Linked DNA regions of Homo sapiens: all the other regions are linked to region 1. The links are contacts of gene promoters, found by promoter capture Hi-C in human tissues and cell types (Jung and others, 2019). All regions are on one chromosome and are shown on one strand. The core of a region is centred on a gene start or on the middle of the fragment in contact, and the rest is flanking DNA. Distances in the headings are between cores, read along the strand shown.

Region 1 (3,558 bases), core at 720-3,219:
TCCTGCCACAGCCTCCCGAGTAGCTGGGATTACAGGCACCTGCCACCACGCCTTGTATTTTTAGTAGAGACGGGGTTTCACCATGGTGGCCAGGCTGGTCTTGAACTCCTGACCTCAGGTGATCCACCCACCTCGGCCTCCCAAAGTGCTGGGATTATAGGCGTGAGCCACCATGCCCAGCCACTTGATGATTTTCTTTTTTTTTCTTTTTTTTTTTTTTTTTGAGACAGAGTCTCGCCCTGTCACCCAAGCTGGAGTTCAATGGCACGATCTCGACTCACTGCAACCTCCGCCTCCCGGGTTCAAGCAGTTCTCTGCCTCAGCCTCCCAAGTAGCTGGGATTACAAGCACCCACCACCACGCCCAGCTAATTTTTATATTTTTAGGACAGACAGGGTTTCACCATCTTGGCCAGGCTGGTCTTGAACTCCTGACCTGGTGATCCACCCACCTTGGCCTCCCAAAGTGCTGGGATTACAGGCGTGAGCTACCGCGCCCGGCCAACCTGATGATTTTCTAAAAACCTTTTTGGACTGGGCGCAGTGGCTTATGCCTCTAATCCCAGCACTTTGGGAGGCTGAGGCAGGTGGATCACTTGAGGTCAGGAGTTTGAGACCAGCCTGGCCAACATGGCAAAATCCCATCTCTACTAAAAATACAAAAATTAGGAGTAGTGGCGCACACCTGTAATCCCAGCTGCTTGGGAGGCTGAAGCAGGAGAATCGCTTGAACTCAGGAGGTGGAGGTTGCAGTGAGCTGAGATGACACCACTGCACTCCAGCCTGGGCAACAGAGTGAGACTCTGTCTCAAAACAAACAAACAAAAAGCCTTTTCAATAAACCACAAGTGACTTTGGTTCACAGTAAATACACTTCTGCCCGAACTAAGATAAAATGTAAGCATTGCTTTTCAAACCTTAGAAATGCAAGAATCAGCTGGGTGCGTTGGCTCATTCCTATAATCCCCACACTTTGGCAGGCCAAGTTGGGAGGACTGCTTGAGTCTCGTTCGAGACCAGCCTGACCATCATGGTGAAACCCCGTCTCTTACTAAAAATAAAAAATTAGTTGGGCGCGGTGGCAGGCGCCTGTAATCCCAGCTATTCGGGAGGCTGAGGCAAGAGAATTGCTTGAACCCGCGAGGCAGAGGGTGCAGTGAGCTGAGATCGCGCCACTGCACTCCAGCCTGGGTGACAGGGACTCCGTGTCAAATAAATGAATAAATACTAAAGAAAAATTAAAAGCTATTATTATTATTATTTTTAGAGGCAGGGTCTCTTTCTGTCTCCCAGGCTGGAGTGCAGTGGCACGGTCACAGATAACTGCAGCCTCGACCTCTTGGGCTCAAGGGATACTCCTGCCTCAGTCTCCCAAAGTTCGGGATTACAGACCTGAGCCACCGCGCCTGGCCGGATGCAGAGCGCCTGGCCGGATGCAGAGGCTTTTGAGTAGGCCCGGTGGACAGGGATTTGCTTTAGACCTGGGCCCCTGTTCCCCCTCTGCCTCTTACCACTGGTGTGACCTGGGGACCGACAGTTTACACTCTCCTTTAGCCGGGGGTTTCCTGTCTCTGAAATGGAGCTAATTTCTCCCCTCTCTACAGGAAGAGGTAGATAGTGCTGGAAGGCGTGCTAGGTACACCGCAAAGACTCCACAGCAAATCCTGCACACAAAATCGCGAATGCTGCAGCCGAGACCCCACGCAAGCAAGCACCGCAGGAGACGTGGGCTGACAGCTGCGCCCCACGTGACCTCCCACCCGCGCCAGTCCGTCCCCTCGGTATCAGGGCGTGGCCTCGCGGGGCGGCCGTACCTGGATTGGCCGGGAGGCGGGACCGGTGGTGCGCGCGCGAAAGGAGAGGGGCTTGGGGGCGTGGCCCAGGGGGCCGGAGACGGCTGCGATTGGCAGTGGGGCGCGCCGGGGGCGTGACCGCGGCATTGGGTCCCGGGTGGGGCCGAGGCAGCGGGAGTCGCGGTTGCTCAGCGTGCACCTGAGACCCGACGCCCGGGGTCCTCGAAGACGCGTCCGCCGCCGTGCCCGTCGCCATGAACCGCTTCAGGGTGTCCAAGTTCCGGCACACCGAGGCTCGGCCGCCCCGCCGCGAGGTGAGTCCGGCCCGAGGACCGGGCGCTGTCGCCTCGGGCCCCGTCCGGCTGCCCCTCCCCCTGCCCGGACCCCACAGGGGTGCCCTCCAGGGCCGTCTGGAACCCCGAGACCTCCATCCCCGGGGAACCCCCCTTCAGGCCAGGGCCCCGGCGTCCGGGCCGTTTCGTCGCCGCCGGAGGGCAGAGTCCGGCACTCCCGTGACTCGCTCTGGCGCTCGGTGACCCTGGCGGTCTGCCCGCCTCGCCCACCTCGCCCCGGGACCCCCGAGGCGGCGCAGCCCTCCTAGCCGGGGCCCAGGCCTGCGAGGCCGCCTGCCTTCCCAGCTTCCGGTCGGCCTCGCCGGGAGCCGGGGCTCGGGGCGCTGCCGGCGCCTGGCTCCTCCTCCCTGCCGCCCCGGGTCGCCCCTGCCCCTGGCTGGGCTGTGGGGAGACGCCCCTCTCTCCTCTGGCCCCGGCGAGCCCAAGTGTGTCAGTGGTGGGGAGGGAGCCCCTCGGCCGCACGCGCCCCTCCCTCGGGTTTCCGCCGGTGCTTCCTCCTCTCGCCGCTGGCGCAAGCTCTTTCTTTATCTCGGTGATGCTGCCACGGCTGGGTGGGGCCTGGGGAAGCCTGAGCAGGTGGAGCCCCAAAGAATTGCTGAGCCAGGTGCCGGGAGACCCTTCGGACCCCCGAAACGGCAGGAGGACTGATGAGGGGTGCGCCTTGGAAACGATGTCAGCTCTGCTCTTCCGCTTTCCGTGTTATTTGTAAGGCCTGGGAGTGTCCTCCGATAACTGGGCCTAGGAGTTGACCTCAAGTGACCCCATCAGGGTCCCAGAGCAAGTCAGGGCAGTCTGGGTAGAGGTTCCGTTTTTGTAGTGTGGACTATATTTCCTCTGCTTCCACTTTATGCTGTGCTAAGCTGCTGGAGACATCCCGGTGAACACAACGGCATTTTCCTTCCCCTGTGGCACTTGTAGCCTCATGAGGGAGACAGCAAGCAGACAAACAAGAGCATTGGAGGTTTTCATAACGACATTGAAGAACACACATGAGGGACTGGGATGGAGAATGGAGGGGGCCAGTCTCAGTAGCGTGGTCAGGAAAGGCTGCCTGGAGTAGATGGCATTTTAGCTGAGGCCAGAAGGGTGAGAATTGAGAAAGAGCCTGGTGGAGAAATGGAAAGTGAGCATGAGTGGATGGAGGGGATGGCCGGAGCAGTATGGTGACAGATGAGTCCAGAGTGGTCCTGCAGAACCCAAGGGCCACCGGAAGAAGTTGGGTTTTATTCTGATTGCAGTGCAGAGCCATTGAAAAGTTAGGGGGAGGGGCTGGATACCATGACTCACGGTAATCCCAGTACTTTGGGTGGACTGCTTTGAGCTCAGGAGTTCGAGACCAGCCTGGGCAACATTGCGAAACCCCTCTGAACAACAAGTTAAAGAAAAAAAAATTAGCCAGGTGTGGTGACTCAC
Region 2 (3,558 bases), core at 590-3,089, 810 kb after region 1:
GTTTGTTTTTATTTTTTAATTTTTAAGCTTAAAAAAAAATTTAGAGCTGGAGGTCTCACTATGTTGCCCAGGCTGGTCTTGAACTCCTGGACTCAAGCAATCCTCGTGCCTCAGCCTCTCAGAGTGCTGGGATTACAGGCGTAAGCCACTGCGCCCGGCTGACTCCTGGTTTAAACAACAGTCAAGAAAAACATAACCCGTGTGAATTTTTCACATGATTGTGTTTGGAGTCCTCTGCTCTTTCAGAATTTCCTATGAAATTCTGTTATATGATTGACATGAGTTACACAAACAACACAATAATGCTGCTTCTCTTGTTTTCTTGAATTTATTCCAAAGTGGGTAAGTTGGACTGGGCCAGCCAATTTGGATAGGCTGCTGAGAGGGCCGCATGAGGACTCTGTGTGGGCTCAAGTCCCAGGAGAATCTTCAGGTTCTTTCTTTCTCTCTCTGAAGACCTTTTAATCTTTTCCTTTGTTATTGTTATTGATTTATTTACTTACTTAGTTTTTAGAGACAGGATCTTGGTCTCTCACCCAGGCTGGAGTGCAGTGGTGCTATCATAGCTTACTGCAGCCTTGACCTCCCAGGTTCAAGCAGTCCTCCCTGCCTCAGCCTCCCGAGTAGCTGGGACCACAGGCACCCACCACCGTGCCTGGATAATTTTTTAACTGTTTAAAGCAGTTTTCTTGCCCTGCTGCCCTTGGTATACTGAGCTATATGCTTACTACACATTCTTCATGCAAAACTGAAAACTACCCTTGCATATATAATACACCATGGGCTCTCTGAGCTCCTGAGTTCTGTTTCTAAATTTCCTTTGCCCTCACTTCCTGATCTTAATAACCTCTCAGTAGAGTGGTGGTAGAGTCTCAGGTCGCATAGACTACTGGAAGGCATCAGCAGTGTTGCCTCACCAACTTTACTGGTCTCTCGTGCTCTTTGCCAGTCGGATGAAATCTATGCATGGTTCCCCCAAAACACGTATCCATGCGCGTATCTGCAAAACTGGCACACAACTTCATGGGGTTCATGGATCCCCACTGAAGATCATCCGTGGATCCCAAGTTAAAGAAGAACTGATCTAGGACATAAACCTTTGTCATTAATATTTCTTTAATAATAGCTTTATTGGGGTATAATTGATATTCCATAAAATTCACCATTTAAAAGGGTATGGTTCAGTGGTTTTTAGTATATTCACAGACTTGTCCAACCACCACCACTACCTAACGTTAGAACAGTTTTATCATCCTAAAAATAAACCCCATGCTCATTAGCAGTCACATCCCATTCCCCTCCTGTTATTGATATTTATGTCTATATTGCCATAAACAAAGAGGTTACCAACAAGCAACCAGTCCTCTTCACATTTGTGAGTCAAACCTAAACTAGTTGATAAAGGACTCTTGAAACTTGCGTCTAACCTGTATCTGGTAGAAAAGTCTTTTATTTCTCCAGCTACAACAGATGGTTGTGAATATTTTCCTCCTTGCCAGAGAATGTGCCCAACAGCGACTCCCAGCCTCCTCCTTCCTGTTTGACAACAGCAGTGCCAAGTCCCTCCAAACCCCGCACAGCACAATTGGTCCTACAGCGAATGCAGCAGTTCAAGAGAGCAGACCCCGAGCGTTTGAGACACGCTTCAGAAGAGTGCTCCCTCGAGGCTGCGCGGGAAGAAAATGTCCCAAAGGATCCTCAAGAGGAGATGATGGCGGGGAATGGTATGATGAGTGTGTTTCTGTCTTCCACACAGAGATAAGTTAATACAACTCTGAGGAAGGGAGGCGGGAAGGAATCAGCATTTGTTGAGTTTCTTCTGTGGATAGGCTCTCTGCTTGATGTTTTACCTTTGCCACTTCACTGGATCCAGCCAGAGAATGAAGAGTCTCTGGGATCATTTCCCACCTAGCTTCCTTGATAAGGTACCGTTTTGTTTTTTTTTCTGAGACAGAGCCTTGCTCTGTCACCCAGGCTGGAGTGCAGTGACATGATCTCAGCTCACTGCAACCTCCGCCTCCCAGGTTCAAGCAATTATCTTGCCCCAGCCAGTGGGATTACAGACGTGTGCCACCACACCTGGCCAATTTTTGTATTTTTAGTAGAGACAGGGTTTCGCCAAGTTGGCCAGGCTGGTCTCGAACTCCTGACCTCAAGTGATCTGCCTACCTCAGCTCCCCAAAGTGCTGGGATTACAGGCGTGAACCATTGCACCTGGCCCTCTTCCTTTTTTTTTTTTTTTTTTTTTTTTGAGATGGAGTCTCGCTCCGTCACCCAGGCTGGAGTGCAGTGGCACGATATTAGCTCACTGCAAGCTCCACCTCCCAGGTTCACGCCATTCTCCTGCCTCAGCCTCCCGAGTAGCTGGGACTACAGGCTCCCACCACCACGCCTGGCTAATTTTTTGTATTTTTAGTAGAGACAAGGTTTCACCTTGTTAGCCAGGATGGTCTCGATCTCCTGACCTCGTGATCCACCCGCCTTGGCCTCCCAAAGTGCTGGGATTACAGGCGTGAGCCACTGTGCCTGGCCTCCTTTTTTTAAAAATTATGACTTTTTATTATGAAAGCTTTCCCTTTCAGTTTTTTCCTTTTAAAAAGATAACCCTCAGTATTCACAAAGAACTCTTCCTTTCAGAAAAGGTTTTTTTGTTGTTGTTGTTTTAATTACAATGAAGCCAGGCATGATGGCTCATGCCTATAATCCCAAAACTTTGGGAGGCCAAGGCAGGAGGACTACTTGAGGTCACAAGTTCGAGACCAGCCTGGACAACATAGTGAGACCCCCATCTCTACAAAAAAATTTTAGGGGCCAGGCGTGGTGGCTCACGCCTGTAATGCCAGCACTTTGGGAGGCCGAGGTGCGCAGATCACAAGGTCAGGAGATTGAGACCATCCTGGCTAACACAGTGAAACCCCATCTCTATGAAAAATACAAAAAATTAGCAAGGTATGGTGGTGGGTGCCTGTAGTCCCAGCTACTCGGGAGGCTGAGGCAGGAGAATGGCGTGAACCTGGGAGACAGAGCTTGCAGTGAGCCGAGATTGCACCACTGCACTCCAGCCTGGGCAACAGAGCAAGACTCTGACTCAAAAAAAAATTTTTTTTTAATTAGCTGGGCATGATGGTGCACAACTGTAGTCCCAGCTACTCGGGAGGCTGAGGTGGGAGGATTGCTTGAGCCCAGGACGTTGAGCTGCAGTGAGCTGTGATTGCATCATTGCACTCCAGGGCAACAGAGTGAGACCCTGTCTCAAAAAAAAAAAAAAAAAAATTACAATGAATCCCCTAATCCCCTATACCTCAATCTAGATTTAACAAATGTTAACATTTGGCCATTTGTTTATGTCTTTATAAATATACATTTTTTTTTTTTTTTGAGATGGAGTCTTGGTCTGTCTCCCAGGTTGGGGTGCAGTGGCGCAATCTCGGCTCACTGCAAACTCCACCTCCTGGGTTCAAGCCATTCTCCTGCCTCAGCTTCCAGGAAGCTGGGACTACAGGCATGCACCACCACGTCCAGCTAATTTTTGTATTTTTAGTAGAGTTGGGGTTTCAC
Region 3 (3,558 bases), core at 670-3,169, 730 kb after region 1:
TGAGACTTCATCTCAAAAAAAAAAAAAAAAAAAAGGCAAGTTTTTGTACCTTTTAGGAGTATGAAAGTTGATATGTTAATTTTTTTTTTTTTTTGAGACAGAATGTTGCTCTGTCACCCAGCCTGTAGTGCAGCGGCACGATCTCGGCTCACTGCAACCTCCACTTCCCAAGTTCAAGCCATTCCCCTGCCTCAGTCTCCCGAGTAGCTGGGATTACAGGTGCCTGCCACCATGCCCGGCTAACTTTTGTATTTTTAGTACAGATGGGGTTTCTCCATGTTGGCCAGGCTGGTCTCGAACTCCTGACCTCATGTGATCCGCCTACCTCAGCCTCCCAAAGTGCTGGGTTTACGGGCGTGAGCCACCGCACCCCTGGCTGATATGCTGATTTTTAAAACCTTGATTCCTGGATATTCTGTTGTCTTTCCTTTCTACTTGTTACAAATTTGTGAAGAACAGGAGAGGCTCCCAGTTAGATGCGGTTCATTTAGGCTTAGACTTTGACACGGCGTGGCTGGCTGGCCACATATCCTTGACACCATCACGTATTGCAAATCTACTGACCAAGGCAGGGTCCTGGTATGTGGTCCCTGGGGTCAGTGGGTGTTGGTGTTGGGTCGGTCCAGTCCTGTGTTGGAGTGAAAGTGTCTGGTTTCTGGGCCTGCGTCGGTGAACTGCGTGCGGCTGGGGACACATTGGCTGCTTTCCTCCCTCGCTGGGCTCTGCCGGCAACTTTCTCAGCCCACTGGACTGAGCAGGAAGTTACAGAAGACAAGTCTCCTTCTTAGTTAGAAGGTAGAACCCATCGTCAGCTGTTTTTCAGTTTTTAAAGTACACAAATTTTTTTTAAAAAATCTGTTTTGGATGAAAAAGCAATGGGAAAGAATCAACTTTTAGAAGATGAGACAGTTTCAGAATATTAACATTTAAATATTTGGATCCCTTTTGGGAGGATTTTTTTTTTGCTTGACTGTCAAGAGCAAAGAAGTGTGGCCCATCGGGGGCTTCTGCAGGGGCTGCGAGGGTCGAGACAGGTTTCAGTTTGGTAGGTTGATGCGAGGTGTCACCCGTGAGGCGAATGTGGGAAGTGCTGTCAGCAGGCATCTGCCAGCTGGGCATGGTGGCTCACGCCTGTCATCCCAGCTCTTTGTAAGGCCAAGGCGGGAAGATGGTTTCAGCCCAGGAGTTCGAGACCAGTCTTGGCAACATAGCAAAACCCCATTTCTACAAAAAATTTTTTAAAAAATTATGGGGGCATGGTGGTCTGTGCCTGTGGTCCCAGCTACTCGTGAGGCGGAGGCAGGAGCATTGCCTGAGTCCAGGAGGTTGGGGCTGCAGTGAGCTGTGATCGCAGTGACAGAGCGAGACCCCCTCTGAAAAGAAGGCAGCAGCCCACCCCCTCCAGTTTCGCTTCTGCGGTTCTGAGAAGACACAGTATCTTACACTGATGACATCTGTGAGGGCTCCTTGCCAAAACCACACCCTGACACTGTGGCATTTGGTCCTGTGGATTTCTCTTTCAGCAACAGCCCGACTTAGAGATGTCCACGCTAGCTTCTGCTAGACACCCTTGATGGGACGAATTACCATATTGTTTCTCGTGTCTTCCTAATTCTCATTCTTTCTGCATATTTGTCTTTTCAGGAAAACCAATTCTGTGTCCTCGGAGGACCACAGCCCAGTTGGGCCCCAGGCGAAACCCAGCCTGGAGCTTGCAGGCAGGACGACTGTTCAGCACGCAGACCGCCGAGGACAAGGAGGAACCCCTGCACTCGATTATCAGCAGCACAGAGAGCGTGCAGGGTAGCCTTGGCTCGTGCTTTGGTCTGGGAGGGCTTTTTGGTTCACTGCTGTGCGTAAAGGGGCATTTTCAGGGTGGAGGCAGTGATTGGTAGAGCCACCGCCTTAGGTGTGAAATCAGAAGGTCTTGGCTGTAGGGAGTGCTGCGCCCTCCATTTCTGTCCCAGCGAGGGACTTCTGCCAGTGTCGGGTGTGTCTTGCCCCCTCTGGTGGCCACCCGTGAGTTTGCCGTCCGGCACCTCCCCTGAGTGGTGATTCATGGCACATCTGCTAATAATCATGGAAGCGGGAGGGGAAACTCAGCATTGGCCCAGTCTGCGCAGGACCGAATTCTGGAGCTGTCTTTTCATTCCCTCTGAAGTATAAAAAAGCAGTCTTTGGAGCCAGTCCTGAAGTGGCTCCATTTCTGGCTTTTAAGTGGGTCGACAAGAGTAGAATCTTTGAAGTTAAAAAGAGAAGTGAGGTTTTCTTGTTATTTTGATTTCTAACTAATTAATTTGGAAACCGCTTTTTTGAAGAATATAGTCCAGGCACAGTGGCTCACACTTGTAATCCCAGCACTTTGGGAGGCCGAGGCAGGAGGATTGCTTGAGGCCAAGTGGTCGAGACCAACCTGGGCAAGATAGACCCTTTCTCTACAGAAAAAAATTAAAAAGTTAGCCAGGCATGGTAGCACACACCAGTGGTTCCAGGTACTTGAGAGGCTGAGGCAGGAGAATCGGTTGAGCCCAGGAAGTTGAGGCTGCAGTGAGCACGATCCTGCCACTGCATAGCAGCCTGGGCAACAGAGCCAGATCCTGCCTCTAAAAAAAAAAGAAAGAACATATAATCTGGTTCTTAGAGGCAGTCCAGTTCTCGTAACCATGCACATTGGGAAACCAGGCTCAGCATTCCCTCGACATAGCCCGAGGCATGTCTGGCCTCAGCAGTGGGAGGATTTGTCCTGCCCTGAGACCTCCTTTCTGAGAGACTTTTTGTTTTGTTTTGTTTTGAGACAGGGTCTTTCTCTGTCACCCAGGCCGAGTGCTGTAGTGCAATCATGGCTCACTGAAGCCTCGACCTCCCTGGCTCAAGTGATCCTCCCACCTCAGCCCCCTGAGTCACTGGGACCACAAGTGTGTGCCACCACCGTCAGCTACTTTGTGTATTTTTTGTAGAGATGGCGGGATCCCTCTGTGTTGCCCAGGCTGGTCTTGAGCTCCTGGGCTTAAGTGATTCTCCTGCCTTGGCCTCCCAAAGTGCTGGGATTACAGGCATGAGCCATGGTGCCCAGCCAGACTTTGTTTCTGTCTGCTTCTTTCTTTTTGTTCATGATCTTAAATGTGTGGGAGGCCGAGGCGGGCCAATCATGAGGTCAGGAGATCGAGGCTATCCTGGCTAACATGGTAAAACCCCGTCTCTACTAAAACTACAAAAAATTAGCCGGGCGTGGTGGCAGGCACCTGTAGTCCCAGCTACTCGGGAGGCTGAGGCAAGAGAATGGCGTGAACCCGGGAGGCAGAGCTTGCAGTGAGCCGAGATCGTGCCACTGTACTCCAGCCTGGGTGACAGAGCGAGACTCCGTCTCAAAAAAAAAAAAAAAAAAAAGTTTAAAACTCATAAACTTAAGCTTTCTTTGGAATGTGACGTAGCGTATTCTTGCACAAAAATAGAAGTTAAACTTTGTTGGTTGTGTCTGTGTTTCATTACTAGGTTCCACTTCCAAACATGAGTTCCAGGCCGAGACAAAGAAGCTTTTGGACATTGTTGCCCGGTCCC
Region 4 (3,558 bases), core at 619-3,118, 540 kb after region 1:
CCTTACAATAAGTGGGGACTTTATATTACCGGTATATAGTTAGTTGGGTGTTTTGGAAACTTCTTTATTTAATATGTCCAAGTTAAAATAGCATATTGTGTCTTTCAACATCAGAGATTCATGATTTAACAGTATAAGACAAATATCCAGGCAAGCAGTAGACTTTTGTTTTTTGTTTTCTGGGTTGTTTTTTTTTTTTTTTTTTTTTTTTTTTGGTCAGCTTTATTGCAAAATTTGCACACAACAGACTGTTTATAAAGTTTTTTGAAATTGCAGGCCAGGGTGGTGGCTCATGCCTATAATCCCAGTGCTTAGGGAGACTGAGACAGGAGGATTGCTTGAGGCCAGCAGTTGGAGACCAGCCTGGACAACATAGTGAGACCCCATCTAAACAAAAAATTTTTTTAATTAGTTGGGTGTAATAGTACAATCCTGTAATCCCAGCTATTCAGGAGGCTGTGGCAGGAGGATCGCTTGAGCCCAGGAGGTCGAGGCTGCAGTGAGCTGTGATCATGCCACTGCACTCTGGCCTGGGTGACAGAGTGAGACCCTGTCTCTGGGGGAAAAAGGAAAAGAAAAACTACATTCTGAAGATTGAACATAGCTGTGTTTCATCCTGTGCTGTATAAGTGGCTCTAAGCAGTTGTGATTACATTTTATGACGTGAATCCTTTTAAATGCAATAGGGAAGCTTATTTAAAGAAAGCTGGTGGCGAATATGGTTGTCAACCAAATGGTCTGTTATGTATGTCTGGTACTTTATGTATCAGAGTGCTTTTCTCCACGTCACCTCAGTTTGATCCTTACAGCGTCCTGTGAGGAAGGGAAGATGCTGTTACTGCTATTTTCTAGGTGAGGAACTGGACTTGAGAGGTGATACAGGGTCAAAACCAGATCCAAACTAGATTGTTAAAGTCCGTAGCTCTATATATTTATTTTCTAAGTCTCTATCTGTAAACAATGCATTTACTTGAATCGACCCAGGAACCTGCCAAGCTTAGTGAGTTTCAGTAGCGGCCTTCCCGCACATGAATGAGATCACTAAGGGGGAGGTTTGTAACCACCTGTGGTGGGGGCAGCCAGGAGTGTATTCTTCCTCCTGGGTTAGGGCGTCCCCCTTTTCCCTCTGGTTCTGGTGTTATCCTCAGCGTGACGTGTGTGGGCTCGTGTTCCTGTTTACCTCAGGGAGAATGAGAAACGGTTATGTTACCCCATCAGTGAGTTCTGGCTAAGTAGGAATAAAAGTTGTCATAGAGACTTTTAGGACTAGGACATTTCATGACCGTGCTTCGTTTTTGAATAACTGAGAGGGGTGAGAGCGGTGGCCCCATTCAAAGGTCGTCAGGGATGAAGGTAGGCAAGGACAAGTCATGTGCAGGGCGCCTTAGAGGGCCTTCAGAAGATGGAAAGTCGCTCCTGGCTGAACATTCAGATTTGATTCTGTAAACAGAATTGAACATAACTTACAAAGAGACTGAGTCCTGCAGTTGGAAGTTGATGCTTAGATTAGTCGCCTGTGTTTTCACAGCTTCTAAGTAGTGTGTTGTAATTGTGTGGCAAAGTATGTGATTACCTGGGGGGTCCATAATTGCTGACTTGTGTTTTTACTTGATGTATTTGAAAACAGTTAGGAAAATGATTTTGCCAAAGTGTGTCTTACCTTAGTTAAGATGAAATGTACCTTATTGTGAGTTTCTGAAGATTGCAAAAGCTTGTCAGTTTAGTTTTTGGGGTCCCATTAGTGAGGGCACCCCTCTTTACCTTACTCAAACCAGCTCTTCACATGTATTCCAAGAAACTAGAGGGCATGCTAAGAGGTATTTCTCAACAAATGGTTTGTGCTCAGATGCTGTTGCTTGTAGCTGAGGAATTTGACTGCAGACTTTCCCAGAGCCTTGGTGTCCTGATTGGGCACTGTGAGAGAGGGGCTACAGTTGGACCACTCTCAATCCTGTTTGACGCTAGAACTCTTTTTAGCCTATTATGGGTCCGCAGACTTCCTCTGCAAAGGGCCAGAGAGCACGCATTTGGCTTTCTGAGCCATATGGTCTCTTGTTGCAACTACTCAAGGCTGCCATTTCAGCAAGAAAGTAGCCATAGGCGAGTGGGCCTGGCTGTGTTCCAGTAAAACTCTAGTTGTAAAGACTGGCATCTGAGGACTTCGCCCATGGGCTGCAATTTGGTGACTGATATAACGTGGGACTTCATTCTCTGAGCACCCGTTGGGGAGCACTGGCCTACCACGGCTGCACAGACAGCTTTAAGGAAAACAGCAGCAGGGCAAGTTTTCTGAGCTGCATGATGTGGAGCCCGGGAGAGCCCAGGTGAGCAGCAGGCTAGCTTGGGTCTCCTGTCTTGGAGCACTTCAGAGCTTAGCAGGGCCCTCTCTCTCTGTCTTTTTTGTTCCTCTGTAACAGTTATATGGATGACTTGATTTAAAATCAGACGAATTTATCAGAAAGCCTGGTGACCGGTTGCATTTTTCTTTGTTCTTTTGCTTTTTGTTGACCCCAGTGGCCCACATGGCATTTCTCGTCCGTCTTTGTCATCTCAGGCTCTAGGCTTGCTCCCCTTCCTGTGACACCAGAAGGTGAGCGTCAGTAAGAACTCCAGAGCCTTTCCACGGCCCTCTTCCCAGCACTTCCCTCCCCAGGGGCAGTGCCTGACACATAGTAGGCCCTCAGGAAATATTTGAGGGAATTAGTGAAAGAATTATATAGTATTTGTCCCTTAAAGTTCTTATCATTTTCTTGTTAAGGTTTTACTTTCAAGCAGATTGCCACCTATCTTCTAATTGGGTCTGTTATTTGCTTCCGAGTTCCGTACCCATGGGCTCCCACCCGGCCACCAAACCAGCTGGCCTTAGGAGTGCTGAGGCCAGAGCATGTTTGGGGCAAGTTACATCAGCTCTCTGAGCTCAGAGTTTCCTCATCTGTAACATGGAGATAATAACAATTCCCATCTCAGGGTGGTTATGAGGGTAGCCTGAGATGATGTGTGTCTGGCATATCCGCCCAATGGGAACTGACACTAGCGTTAACCAGGGACGTTGTCGTACCTTGTAAGTCCTAGGACTTACTGGGAGTGCTAGTCTGATTGGAGCAAGACCTGTTTCTCAGCAGTTCTGGAAAGGACAGAAGCCATGTGTGCTCGTATCCACAGAAACCAGTGTGCAGGCACGCGTGTGATAGTGTAGCACCTCAGCAGATACATAGCCGGGAATTCTGTCATCTATACCATTGACTCTGTCTCCATTTTTTATTGTATTTTTAAAAATAGGAACGTGATGGCCATGAAAGCTTAAAATTACGAAAACTTAAATGGTGTGTGTTCTGAATTATTTTTTCTTTTAAATCAAATCAGGATGTACACTGAAAATTATTGATAATTTTGAAGCATATTTCATGGACTGTTTAAGCAGCAGACAAGTATGTGATTCTGTTTGTTTACTGTGTATAATTTATCTTGAGGTACCTGTTAAGCATTAGCAGTGTACACAGGATTCTGATAGATGCCTGTGAGTACTTAGAACCATCTTGAGAAGATGAAACCTCGAGG

The links. The method cuts DNA at HindIII sites, captures the fragments that hold promoters and counts their contacts. A contact is called where the count stands out against the background at its distance.
Region 2: a contact is called between a fragment that was not itself captured here and the fragment with the promoter of CORO7 in region 1, in 1 of the 25 tissues and cell types used here (dorsolateral prefrontal cortex).
Region 3: a fragment that was not itself captured here is called in contact with the fragment with the promoter of CORO7 in region 1 in 1 of the 25 tissues and cell types used here (dorsolateral prefrontal cortex).
Region 4: a contact is called between a fragment that was not itself captured here and the fragment with the promoter of CORO7 in region 1, in 2 of the 25 tissues and cell types used here (dorsolateral prefrontal cortex and spleen).

What each region holds. Positions count from the first base shown.
Region 1 is chr16:4,415,007-4,418,564 of GRCh38, reverse strand. It overlaps CORO7 (coronin 7), which reads left to right and starts at 1,969. Exons shown (of 28, transcript NM_024535.5): 1 at 1,969-2,106. The coding sequence starts at 2,047. CORO7-PAM16 (CORO7-PAM16 readthrough) reads left to right here and starts at 1,969. Exons shown (of 31, transcript NM_001201479.2): 1 at 1,969-2,106. The coding sequence starts at 2,047. It overlaps LOC124903635 (a long non-coding RNA gene), which reads left to right. Exons shown (of 3, transcript XR_007064963.1): 3 at 1,604-1,840. The HindIII fragment of the contact is 38,450 bases long and covers 1-3,558 here.
Region 2 is chr16:3,604,640-3,608,197 of GRCh38, reverse strand. SLX4 (SLX4 structure-specific endonuclease subunit) reads left to right here. Exons shown (of 15, transcript NM_032444.4): 3 at 1,500-1,724. Among named protein-coding and RNA genes, the nearest start is that of SLX4, 5.2 kb to the left of the region's middle. The HindIII fragment of the contact is 4,547 bases long and covers 1-3,558 here.
Region 3 is chr16:3,689,072-3,692,629 of GRCh38, reverse strand. It overlaps TRAP1 (TNF receptor associated protein 1), which reads left to right. Exons shown (of 18, transcript NM_016292.3): 2 at 1,645-1,803; 3 at 3,493-3,558. Among named protein-coding and RNA genes, the nearest start is that of TRAP1, 27 kb to the left of the region's middle. The HindIII fragment of the contact is 7,881 bases long and covers 1-3,558 here.
Region 4 is chr16:3,873,056-3,876,613 of GRCh38, reverse strand. The region is part of intron 1 of CREBBP (CREB binding lysine acetyltransferase); the gene reads left to right. Among named protein-coding and RNA genes, the nearest start is that of CREBBP, 5.9 kb to the left of the region's middle. The HindIII fragment of the contact is 5,503 bases long and covers 1-3,558 here.